Linked DNA regions of Homo sapiens: region 1 is linked to region 2. The links are contacts of gene promoters, found by promoter capture Hi-C in human tissues and cell types (Jung and others, 2019). All regions are on one chromosome and are shown on one strand. The core of a region is centred on a gene start or on the middle of the fragment in contact, and the rest is flanking DNA. Distances in the headings are between cores, read along the strand shown.

Region 1 (6,154 bases), core at 1,940-4,439, 160 kb after region 2:
ATGATCTGGACAGTCAAAGCAAACTGGGACACTTAAGTTTATTCCGTAAGTCCATAAGTTGCACCATTTATGAGGAAAAACTTACAATTATTTAAGTAAAAGGCTTTTAACTGGCACCTTGTTCAAAAAGAAACTCTAAAATATAGTTGGACTTCTGTATCTGTAGATTCTGCATCCATAGATTGAACCAACTGCAAATCAAAAATACTTGAAAAAAAAATGGGTGGTTGTATCTGTACTGAACATGTACAGACTTTTTTCTTGTCGTTTTCTAAACAACATAGTGTAACAACTATTTACATAGAAATCACATTATATTAGGTTTTATAAGTAATCTAGGGACGATTTAAAGTATACGGGAGGACGTACATTGGTTACGTACAAATCCTACACCATTTTATATAAGGGACTTGAGCATCAGTGGATTTTGGTATCCGTGGGGGGTCCTGGAACCAATTCTACATGGTTTCCTAGGGACGACTGTAATTCCTTAATTCTTACAATTTTTAGCTTAGCTTTTAGAAGTTGGTCTTGGCCAAACTTCAAAAATTCAAATTACCTGGAAGAGTAAGTGGAACACATATCTTTCAAATGATCCTACGTATATATTTTCTTCAATTGAGTTTTTAATCCAAGTTGAGCTAAATTATACTAATATTCTATGGCAGAATCTTATAGTTCTGATATCCATAGCTTTTCACATCTTTTTTATGGTCTCAGAAGATATAGTCTTCATCCTCATCTTACAAAATTACGTATTCTCTGCTCTTGATTCTTTTTGTTTCCACCTCTGAAGTCACTCACACACCTATATTTTGAATGTTTTCTGCTTAACTGCCTCTTTTTCTTCAGCTTATGTCTTTCACATCATGAAATATACACACATACTTCTTTTGACCATATGATCATATGGCTCATCCAGTTACTTCTGTTGGCGCGGTGGCCCTAGCAAACCTCTCTGGCCCTCGACAGGCTTGAGTTTAAATCTTGGCTCAGTGACTTATGAAGTGCATGACTGTGGACAAGTTTCTTAATCTTTTTGTGACTCAGTTACATCATCTGTAAGTCTATAAATGGGGATGATAATGGTATTTATCCCACAGGAATGTTGGGAGGGTTAAATACATGTAACAAGTACCCCATAAATGATAGGCATTGTTATTTTTTTCTCAAATATTTTTGGTCTGCCATTGGTTGAATCCATGGATATTGAACCCACAGATATGGAGAACCAACTGTTACAGCTTTATTGAGTTCTTACTATGTGCCAGATGTATTGTGCTTTACATAGCTTATTTCATGTAATTATTATCAGACGTCTATGAAGTACATATTATTTAAATTTTTTAAGATAAGGGAAATGAAGCACAGAGGTTAAGCTTACATAACATCGTGCATCAATGTGTCATAAACCCAGGATTCAAATCCATACAGTCTGACTCTAGGGCCCACACTCTACGATACTGTACAGATGGAGGCTCATTATGAGTGAAGAAATACAAAAGCCAATTACCCATTCATATTGTTTGTCTATTTTGTAATAATAGTTTTTTCTGTATTCGAAATTAGAATATTTTAAGAATGTCTATTTCAGTATTAGGACTTAGGATTTATGCAGCTACCTTCTCCCAATCTGTCATTTTTATGTTATTTATTTTTTGTTGTATAGACATTGAAGTTTGGATAGTTACATTTAGTGTATGATAAATATGTATACATAATAGAATTCAGTCAAAATATGCAACTATTAATATTTAGTAGTCTTTTCTCATGAGTTGCCAATGTTAATCTTTTCTAAGATATCTTTCCTAATTAATATTAGATCATAGAGATAATCTCTGTTCAAAGCATTGTTTTCCATATTTAGTCTTTAATCCAACTGGATTATAATATTGTAATTGGTTTGAGATAGGAATTTACTGATAATTCTATTAGTAGAATTATCTTTGCATGTAGAAGACCAGTTGTTCCAACACCGTTTATTAAGTAGATCTTTCCTTTGTGATGCCACCTTTACTGTATACATACATGATGGTTTCTAGGCTTTTACTTTTTCTGTAATCTATTTGTCTACATTTATATCAGTACTGTACTTTGTGTGTGTGTGTTTTACATTGGTTTAATTACAATTACTTTATATGGGCAATGATTTCACCACTTCTTTATGCACACACATTATTCTTAGTTTTTCAAAAATTTTTCAGCTACTTTGGGACCTCTGGGCTTCCATTTGAATTTTAGAATTAGTTTATCTAGTTCTAGGAAGAAATCCTATTGGGGATTTCCATTGAATTGCACAACTAGTTGGAGAAGAATTAAGCAAAAAATACATATATATAAAAAATATATAAATATATATATATATAAAGATATATGTGTGTGTGTGTGTGTATATATATATATATATATATATATATTATATATATATATATATTTTTTTTTTTTTTTTTTTTTTTTTTTTGGTGATGAAGTCTTGCTTTGTTGCCCAGGCTTGAGTGCAGTGACACGATCTTGGCTCACTGCAACCTCCACCTCCCGGGTTTAAGTGATTCTCATGCCTCAGCCTCCCAAGCAGCTGGGATTACAGGGGTACACCACCATGCCTGGCTAAGTTTTTGCATTTTTAGTAGAGATAGGGTTTCGCCATGTTGGCCAGGCTGACCTCAAGTGATTCTGACCTCAAGTGATCCACCTGCCTCAGCCTCCCAAAGTACTAGGATTGCAGGCATGAGCCATTGCACCTGTCCCGAAAGATATTTTCTGTCACAATTAAAGATGTTTCCATTTAAGGGAATCTATTAATATAAATTATTATATTCAAGAGAAAAACAATCAGATCTATAGAGCTGAAAATTTTTTTAACTCAGAACCTGTGATTTCAAAAGGACCTATTTATAAAGTAAAAGTAAAAGAACATTTTCTTATGATATTTTAAGAAATTATTCACACGCATACAACACATATATATGTGCAGATAATAAGCTACAAGCTAGTACCATGTTTACTTGTAAAAATTAGGCACTTTCCTACTAGTCAGGAACACAACCAGCTTGCCAGTGCTACTACTACGATTTTGTATGCCTAGACATAAGTAAGGGGAGGGAAATGAAGTAAAAAGCAGGATGGTGCATTCAAAATTATGATATCTAAGTGATACAATTATGTTTTTAGGCAACAGAAGAGAAACACAAGAATGATTGAAATATGGACACAAAATTAATATACAAAAATCAATACCATTTTTCTCTATAAACCACACCATCAAAAATGAAATGGAAGAATGATGCTCAGACTAGAAAAAAACCCGAAAGAAAAAAATAAAATGTATGTGGTGTACATGGGAGAATGAAACCTTCAAATTATTACTGAGATAGAGGATTTGAACAAATTTTTTAAATACCCTTTTTTGGATAAGAGCCATCATTATTAAATTAATATAAATTGTCTTTAACCTACATAGATTGATCAGAATCTCAATAACAATTCTAAATTATTTTTCTTAGAATTAGACAAGTTTATTTGAGCCGAGTCTAGAATACATTTGAAAAATAAAAACATGCAGAATGGCCAGGAAAAGTATAAAAGAATGTCATGTGCCATGCTCTAAGTTTTTAAAAGAAGAATATTTGTTTAATGCTTACATAACTTTAGGGAAAAAAAAATTTTATAAAAAGTTGCCAGTCAACATATACACCCAGAACTGACTTGTAGTTATCTTTATTCCCTCACTGTAAACTTTGTTATTTTAAACAATTATATTCTATTATGTATCTTAAAAGTGAAGAAAGCGAGGCATGGTGGCTCACACCTGTAATCCCAGCATTTTAGGAGGCCACAGCTGGAGGATCACTTGAGGCCAGGAGTTTGAGACCAGCTGGATCAATACAGCAAGACCCAGTCTTTACAAAAAATTTTAAAAAATTAGCTGGGTGTGGCCAGGCGTGGTGGCTCACGCCTGTAATCCCAGCACTTTGGGAGGCTGAGGCGGGTGAATCATGAGGTCAGAAGATCGAGAGCATTCTGGCTGACATGGTGAAACCCCGTTTCTACTAAAAATACAAAAAATTAGCCGGGTGTGGTCGTACACACCTGTAGTCCCAGCTACTTGGGAGGCTGAGGCAGGAGAATCACTTGTACCCAGGAGGCAGAGGTTGCAGTGAGCCGAGATCGCACCATTGCACTCCAGCCTGGGCGACAGAGCAAGACTCCGTCTCAAAAAAAAAAAAAAAAAAATTAGCTAGGTTTGGTGGCTCACATGTGTAGTCCCAGCTACTCAGGAGGCTGAGGCAGGAGGATTGCTTGAGCTCAGCAGTGAGTCTTCAGTGAGCTATGATTGTGGCACTGCTCCAGCTTAGGTGACAGAGCGAGACCCAGTTTCAAAGAAAAAAAAAAGTGAAGGAGAGGAAGGTGCTGTGGTACCAGCAAGAACATTGGAAATATTATTGCCTCTTGCCAGGGGCAGAAGCGTGTTCATGTTTTTTTTTTTTTTTGGTTCTGTTTGACAGGAGAAGGAATAAAACTTAATGACATGAACTGTGAATTTATGTTTTTTAAGGTTCGAACCCCTATGTTTCTTGCTATTAATACTGAATTTCTTAACATTTGTATGTGAAGAGAATCAACATCTTGGGAAAATAGACCCTATTGTAAAGACTGACTCATCATTTTATACAGTCAAAAATTAAAGCATATTTTACTTCTTGGTATTTTGTTACTTATGGCTTTTGTCAGGGATGCAATTTCTTTTTTTTTTTTTTGAGACAGAGTCTCGCTCTGTCGCCCAGGCTGGAGTGCAATGGCACAATCTTGGCTGACTGCAAGCTCCGCCTCCCAGGTTCACGCCATTCTCCTGCCTCAGCCTCCCGAGTCGCTGGGACTACAGACGCTCGCCACCACACCCGGCTAATTTTTTGTATCTTTAGTAGAGATGGGGTTTCACCATGTTAGCCAGGATGGTCTCGATCTCCTGACCTCGTGATCCGCCCGCCTCGGCCTCCCAAAGTGCTGGGATTACAAGCATGAGCCACCGCGCCTGGCCAGGGGTGCAATCTTTTTATATGAGATTTATGCTAAGTTACTAGAGTTGGTGGGAAAATGTTTTTGTGCTGATTTGTTAGCACTAATTTAAAAAATGTTTTCTCTTTTTGTAGTTTTCCCCTATCTTTGTTGTGGTGTATATTCCAGAGGGATTATCTATTTCTGAAACATTCATCAGTTGATTATTGTGTCAAGCTCTGTTCTGAGTCACATTTACTGTGTTATTTAGTCTTCACATCAACCCTTTAAGGAGAATTCCACTTTATAGATGAGGAAACTGAGACTCAAGTTTGGCTATTTGTCAAGGTAACACAATTAGTAAATTTTGAAGCCAGAGTTTGAACCCATGACATTGGATACCACAGCCTATTAACTGGTAAAAAATATCTAAACCCAGCTCCGTTTTGAAAGTTTAGTATTTCAGCATTTTTTTTCAGTCAGAAATGTGTCAGTCACATGTCTGTTCAGCCTTTCTGCTGCTTTTGTGAATAGAAAACAGGCGTTCATTCTTATCCTTGGGGTCTGCAGGTTAACTATGTGGGCATCTCTGCTTTGGGCTGCAGATCAGCTGGCCTTGGCTTAGGCTCCACAGTGGGCTTGTGTCTGCTCTGCATATATTCATTCTGAGTTTCAGCTGAAATGGCACAGCTTCCTGGGCCAAGGTCTTCATTTGCTGTCTCACTGGAGCACATGAGCCAAGGTAAAGGGTGTAAGCAAATTTCAGGCCTTTGCTCACATCATGTTTACTGACATTCCTTTTGCCCCAACAAAGGGCTCAGACAAGGCCCACATTAGTAGATGGGACATTAGTACAGGCAGGAAGTGAAGACTCGCTGAATAATCAATTTATCACAGTAATATTTTCTAATGGAATTATTTTTTGTTGAGTTTGTTTTTGAGACCAGGACTTGCTGTGTTGCCCAGGCTGGAGTACAGTGGCATGAACTTGGCTCAGGTGATCCTCCCGCCTCAGCCTCCCGAGTAGCTAGATGATAGGCATGTGCCATCATGCCTGGCTAATTTTTTTATTTTTTATTTTTCGTAGAGATGGAGTCTCACTATGTTACCAAGGCTGTTCTCGAACTCCTGGCCTCAAGCAGTCCTCCTGCCTCAGCCT
Region 2 (5,800 bases), core at 1,179-3,678:
GAAGCTTTCGGTCAATCACTAACATACAAAAAGCCAAAGGCTGGGTGCAGTGGCTCACGCCGGTAATCCCAACACTTTGGGAGGCCGAGGCAGGCAGATCACCTGAGGTCAGGAGTTCGCGACCAGACTGGCCAGTATGGTGAAACCCCGTCTCTACTAAAAAAAACAAATACAAAAATTAGCCGGGCGTGGTGGCGCGTGCCTGTAGTTCCAGCTACTCGGGAGGCTGCGGCAGAAGAACTGCTTGAACCCGGGAGGCAGAGGTTGCAGTGACTGGAGATTGCGCCACTGCACTTCAGTCTGGGCGACAGAGAGAGACTCCATCAAAAAAAAAAAAAAAAAAAAAAAAAAAAAAAAAAAGCCAGCACTTAAGAGATTCCAAGGACTTTAGGAGTTGTATGCGAGGAAATAGGGACAAAGACCAAATCTGTATTTGAGAAAATCACAGAACCGTATGAGTATTTAATTCAATACAGACATGGAAACTGGCCCAAGCATTTACTCACAGATGACTGGGCAAATCCCTGGTGTTATTGGTACAAACTATTGATCGAGCCCCCAATCTCATTCCTACCCCTAAAATATAGCAAAGTGAAAGATCTTATCACTTATTTGGACTGAGATTAACACCATCCCATAAACTGCATGGCTTTCAATCCCAGGGCTATGGCGTGTGATGCCACATAGAATATGCACTAATCTCTGCAGCAATTGAGTTGTTAGGGTAAAGGCTCTTGTTTTTGCCTTCTTTCTCTCACGGCCAAGAAAATTAAGGAACAGGGACACAAAGGATGAGGTCGGAGCGGAAGTTTAATAAGCAAAAGAAGAAAGCTCTCCCCAGCGGAGGGACCCAAAAGAGGGTTGCCAACTAGGAGGCTGAATCTGGGGGGGTTTATTAACTGGGAAGGGGAGGAACGTGGGCTGTCTTGAAGAAAGCACTACCCAGCTTGGCCCTGGGACCTTAGCCCGGGACCAATCCCAGGCTGAAGTGAAAGTTTGGCCCAGGACCAATCAGGGGCTGAAGTGAAAGTTTGGCCCGGGACCAATCAGGGGCTGAAGTGAAAGTTTGGCCCGGGACCAATCAGGAGCTGAAGTGAAAGTTTGGCCCGGGACCAATTAGGGGCTGAAGTGAAAGTTTGGCCCGGGACCAATCAGGAGCTGAAGTGAAAGTTTGGGCCGGGACCAATCAGGAGCTGAAGTGAAAGTTTGGCCCGGGACCAATCAGGGGCTGAAGTGAAAGCTTGGCCCGGGACCAATGAGGGGGTGAAGTTATGATTCAAAGAGGCCGCGCTCACAGTCTAAAGCATGTCCAAAAAAGGAAAGTGGCCGCCGGAACCTGTTAGTCCAAGCTGCACCGTTTCGTAAGCCCCCACCATTTCACAGACCCTGGTCAGAGGGAAACATTCCACCCGGGTTTGGGCTGTGCGAAACATCCTTCCCAACCGCCTGACTTCCTTATCACATCCTGCTGGGCAAAAGCCCAAGAAACATCCTTATCAACTTTCTCCCAGGCAACAAGCCATACCGCCCAGACCCCTCCTGCCCAGGCCTGTAATTACCCCAGCCTGGAAGCGGCAGTGGGCTCTGGCATTTAGTTGGTCCCCGCCATAGAGCCGCCAACTCTCTCTCTTTCTTTAACCCTCGCCTTCCCTTCAAAATCTAACAGAGCCCACCGTGTACATGCCCACAAAAGAAGCGACTATTTCGTGGAAGCCCGCTGGTCACACAAAGGACAAAGGCGTTTCTATGTTGGGCCTCGGTCCCTTATCAGTGCAGCTGAGGAATGTCTTCAGGACAACCCCCCTGTGGAGTTTTCCTTATGTATGCCTGCAGCCTGATTTTTCAGGCTGTTTCTCTGTTTAAAGGACTTTTACCAAGGTCCCACCCTAACTGCCTAAAGAGTTTTTTCTCTCAAGGGGACACACAAAGTCCCAATCGCACACATGCCTCCGCATATCCACTTACCCACTGCCTCACAGCCAATCACACTCTCCTCTCTCACATACACCAAGGGGCCACACAAGTTGCACTTGCACAGCCACAGACCTGCAACTCACGCACACAAGGTACTGCACAGACACGCAAAGTCACACACCCACCCCGGGACACGCAGTCCAACCACACAGTCACCGGTTCTTCACATCCGCACGCACAACGAGGGTCGTCCAGGACACACACACCCACTCCGGGCGCGCACAGTCACAAGCGCCCACCTGATCACCCAGAGTCAGCACCACACAGCCACAGTCACAGACCACGGAGACCCACGGCAGCCATCGCGATCACACACGCAAACTCCTCTCCTCAGCCCTCCACACACAAAAGGACCGGAGCCGGATTCCTCACCCTCAGCATTCTCTGGTTCCGCTCGGGGCCAGCCTAGCCAAGTTCCTCAGGACTCCAAGGCGCGGCGGCAGCTAAATCGGCACAGCAAACGGTCCCGCCACCTGGCTAAGAGGAAGCCAAAATCTCGCGAGACGTGGCGTCGGCCTGCGGGATCCTCTGGGAAATGTAGTCCAGAGCCCGACTGCGGGCTTCCCTATGCCTCTCATTTCCAAGCCTGGCTTGTTTCCTTTTACCGCTCCTCTCCAACGAGGATCGCAGAGCCCTCATGCCGAGCGGCTCGCTATGGGGCCGGCTCGCCCGCTAGAGTGGTCAGGCCTGATTATCCCTGGCAGCTCTGTTATCTGGGGTAAGACACAGGAAAACGTGCTTCCGGTTCTCGGCGGAAGTAGCCCCGAACGGTAGAACCGATGGGAAATGTAGTCCAGGGCAGAAAAGCGGTCAACCCAGCCACGATGCGAGCCAAAGGATTCTTGGCTCCAAGCCTGGTCCTGGCTGTTAGTTTGGAACTCATGCACCCAGATGCTAACTCGCCCTCAGAATGCAGAGGGGATGAAACACTGACCGGACAATTCAATCTGTATATGGGTGAGTCCAGGGCTCAGTCTGCATTGCGCGGAAAATGAAGGTGAAGGTGGAGGTGGGACCTGATGGTCTCGTCCCGGATAGGGTTGAAGAAGTGGGAGAAAAGGAATCAAAATCGTGGATGGGATAAGATTGTGCGCGAATGCTCTCTGGGAGCGGATCGTGGCCGACGAGGGCCCGAAGATGCTGCCTTGTGATCGCAGGTGTGAGTGGAAGCTGTGTGAGTGTCAATGTGAGTTGCCTGTTTGGGAGACCAGCATTGTATTTTTGTATCAGGTAGTAACCTTGGAGCCAGGTATTTGTAAAATTATGATAAGAGGGCATCATTCTGGAGCATCGATTTTATTTGGAGGTTGACAGGAGAGGGAAAAAAACCCCTAATATCTGATAAACAACATAAATAGATTTTTATGTTAAAGTAGTTATATTTATTACGGTCTAGAATGCAAATCCAACATGGCTTTTAAAGCAAGAAAGATTTTTTTTATACAAAGTCAAAGGTATTATTTTTATACACTTACTACAAAACATACAAATAGTATACCAAGCCTAAGAATATAAAGAGTCTAGCTTTAATTAATTGAATGTAAATTTAAAAACAAGCATCTAATAAGTAGTCCTTTTCACACATCGAAAAGCCAATTTCGGAATTTTTTTAAAAACTCAAATTACAAAGTAACAAATATCTGGTGTCTTAGTAACTTGAAGATCAGTACTAATGATTAAGCCAGCTTATATGCTAATATGATACATGAAAAAGCCTGTATTTCACAAATAGCAAACCACTAAAACTTTAATTTTCCACAGAAGCCATTGTTTCACACCAATAATTATGTTAAAGATCAAGACAGGCTAAAAGTTTTTAATGAGCACTGAATCCATTAAAACTTGGCAAATTTTTCCACGAAGGTAGAATTTTAATTTCTGTTTAAACCATGGGTAGATGGTACACCCTTGTGAGGGTGTACTGTAAGTACTTCTAAGGAGCTTTATCAGACTTCATCCCAAATTATGTACCTAGTAAAAGATGTACCAATGTCTACTTTGGAATAAGAAATTATTCCTTGTTTGAGCAAGGATTAAGCAGAAACTGAAAGAAGTGTAGTTTATAGCTTCTTACATAAAGTAGATGGGCACCCCTCAAAAACAAACCAATATCCTGGCTCCTTAAATATCAACATTAATCTAAATAATGTATAGCATGCTCCTGTCCAATCTTTCCCGCTCATTTGTAGTCTTCTCAGATCGATGCTTCATTTTAGTCACACATTTCTATCCTGCAAGACTGGGTACCTGGGCTTTTTGTCTGGTTTTGTAACACTAGGCAGTTTTGGCCTTACTCAAAATATAAGACTGCAAAAGGCCTGTTTTACCTCAACCATACGGCTTCAGGAAATGGTCTGTATTTCCAACAGAAAAGTGGTATCTAACTCTCAGGATGGTTTCTAACAACTGGATAGATACCTGGGTCTTTGCGGCCTGTGATGCAGCCTAACAATACAGGACCTTGTGTGATCAGCTAGGTCTGCTAAAGCAAGGGGACATCCATGTTCTAGATTTTTATTTATTTATTTTTTTTTGAGACGGAGTCTTGCTCTGTCGCCCAGGCTGGAGTGCAGTGGCGTGATCTCGGCTCACTGCAAACTCCGCCTCCCGGGTTCAAGCCATTCTCCTGCCTCAGCCTCCTGAGTAGCTGGGACTACAGGCGCCCGCCACCACGCCCGGCTAATTTTTTGTATTTTTCGTAGAGACGGGGTTTCACCGTATTAGCCAAGATGGTCTCGATCTCCTGACTTCGTGATCCGCCCGCCTTGGCCTCCCAAAGTGCTGGGATTACAGGCGTGAGCCACCTCGCCCGGCCCATGTTCTAGATTTTTTATTCTGGTTTAGCAGGATCCAAACTGCCTGTCCTGAAGAGACTCTCTTTCTCTTCCATACAACGGCTGGCCTCTACCAAGTTAACTGCTTCGTGGGGGGAAAATATTGCCTTTCCTTTGGTCTGCATGTTTTAAGGGAAATACCAAATACACCTACAGGAGTTTATCAATAATAGACAAGGCTGATTTCAAACTCTTTCAGGAGATAAACTGGAGGGGAAGACGAATGGCAGGAGGGTGAAGAGGAAACTGAATTACTGTGCAAACACCCGCCACTCAAATCCGGGTGGTTACTGCAGAGTGAATAACGATAGGTACTATTTCGTGTAAGGCAAAGTCCTTTGAAAGGGCTCCTAGAGCGTCAAGGCCTCCACCTGATGAATGAATGAGTCAGGCAGGCCCAGCTCCACTTCACGGATGGGAAAACTGAGGTACGAGGCCTCGCTGAAAGATGCGAGGCAGAGCGGAGAACCAGAAGCACCACTTCTCTCAGGCTGATGCTCTAATCTCGGCTCCCCCCGCCCCTACAATGGCGTAGACGGCCTCCGCCGCCCGACTCACACACACCCTCCCCCGGGAACGGCAAGTCTCCTCGGGTTCCAAGGACAGGGTCAAAAGACAAGAGGCCCGAGGCGCTCCCGCCGTGATTTGCAGCCAGATACCGTTGGGAGCGCAGCCAGAGAGCGTTGGGAGCGTGCGTACCTCCAGCCCAACATGGCGGCGGCAGCGGCCGCCCCCGACCCCAAGCCCTCCCTCAGGGCCCGAGGCTTCTCCTCAGGGCCTTCCGGTGGGCGGGAAGACAGCGCAACCCCGCCAGGCCTTTCTCGTCGCTGCGCCTGCTCGCTGAAGGAGTCACCTACCCGACGAGACTAACGGCTGCGGCGCGGAAGCCCCACAGCCCGCCGAGAACCAGGAATACGAGAGCCAGGCGGCGCGGCGGCGGGACCTGTACTGAGCAAGAAAGAAGATTTCAAAGTAATTTATTGTTATGAGAT

Evidence for each region. The method cuts DNA at HindIII sites, captures the fragments that hold promoters and counts their contacts. A contact is called where the count stands out against the background at its distance.
Region 1: a fragment that was not itself captured here is called in contact with the fragment with the promoter of ZNF850 in region 2 in 1 of the 25 tissues and cell types used here (pancreas).

The regions. Positions count from the first base shown.
Region 1 is chr19:36,925,471-36,931,624 of GRCh38, forward strand. All of the region lies in intron 4 of ZNF568 (zinc finger protein 568), which reads left to right. Among named protein-coding and RNA genes, the nearest start is that of ZNF568, 12 kb to the left of the region's middle. The HindIII fragment of the contact is 6,601 bases long and covers 1-6,154 here.
Region 2 is chr19:36,770,379-36,776,178 of GRCh38, forward strand. It overlaps ZNF850 (zinc finger protein 850), which reads right to left and starts at 2,429. Exons shown (of 5, transcript NM_001193552.2): 1 at 2,347-2,429. It overlaps LOC728485 (a long non-coding RNA gene), which reads left to right and starts at 2,775. Exons shown (of 2, transcript NR_164117.1): 1 at 2,775-3,131; 2 at 5,008-5,800. RefSeq lists a silencer at 1,969-2,263 and enhancers at 2,250-2,389, 2,530-2,689. The HindIII fragment of the contact is 7,262 bases long and covers 623-5,800 here.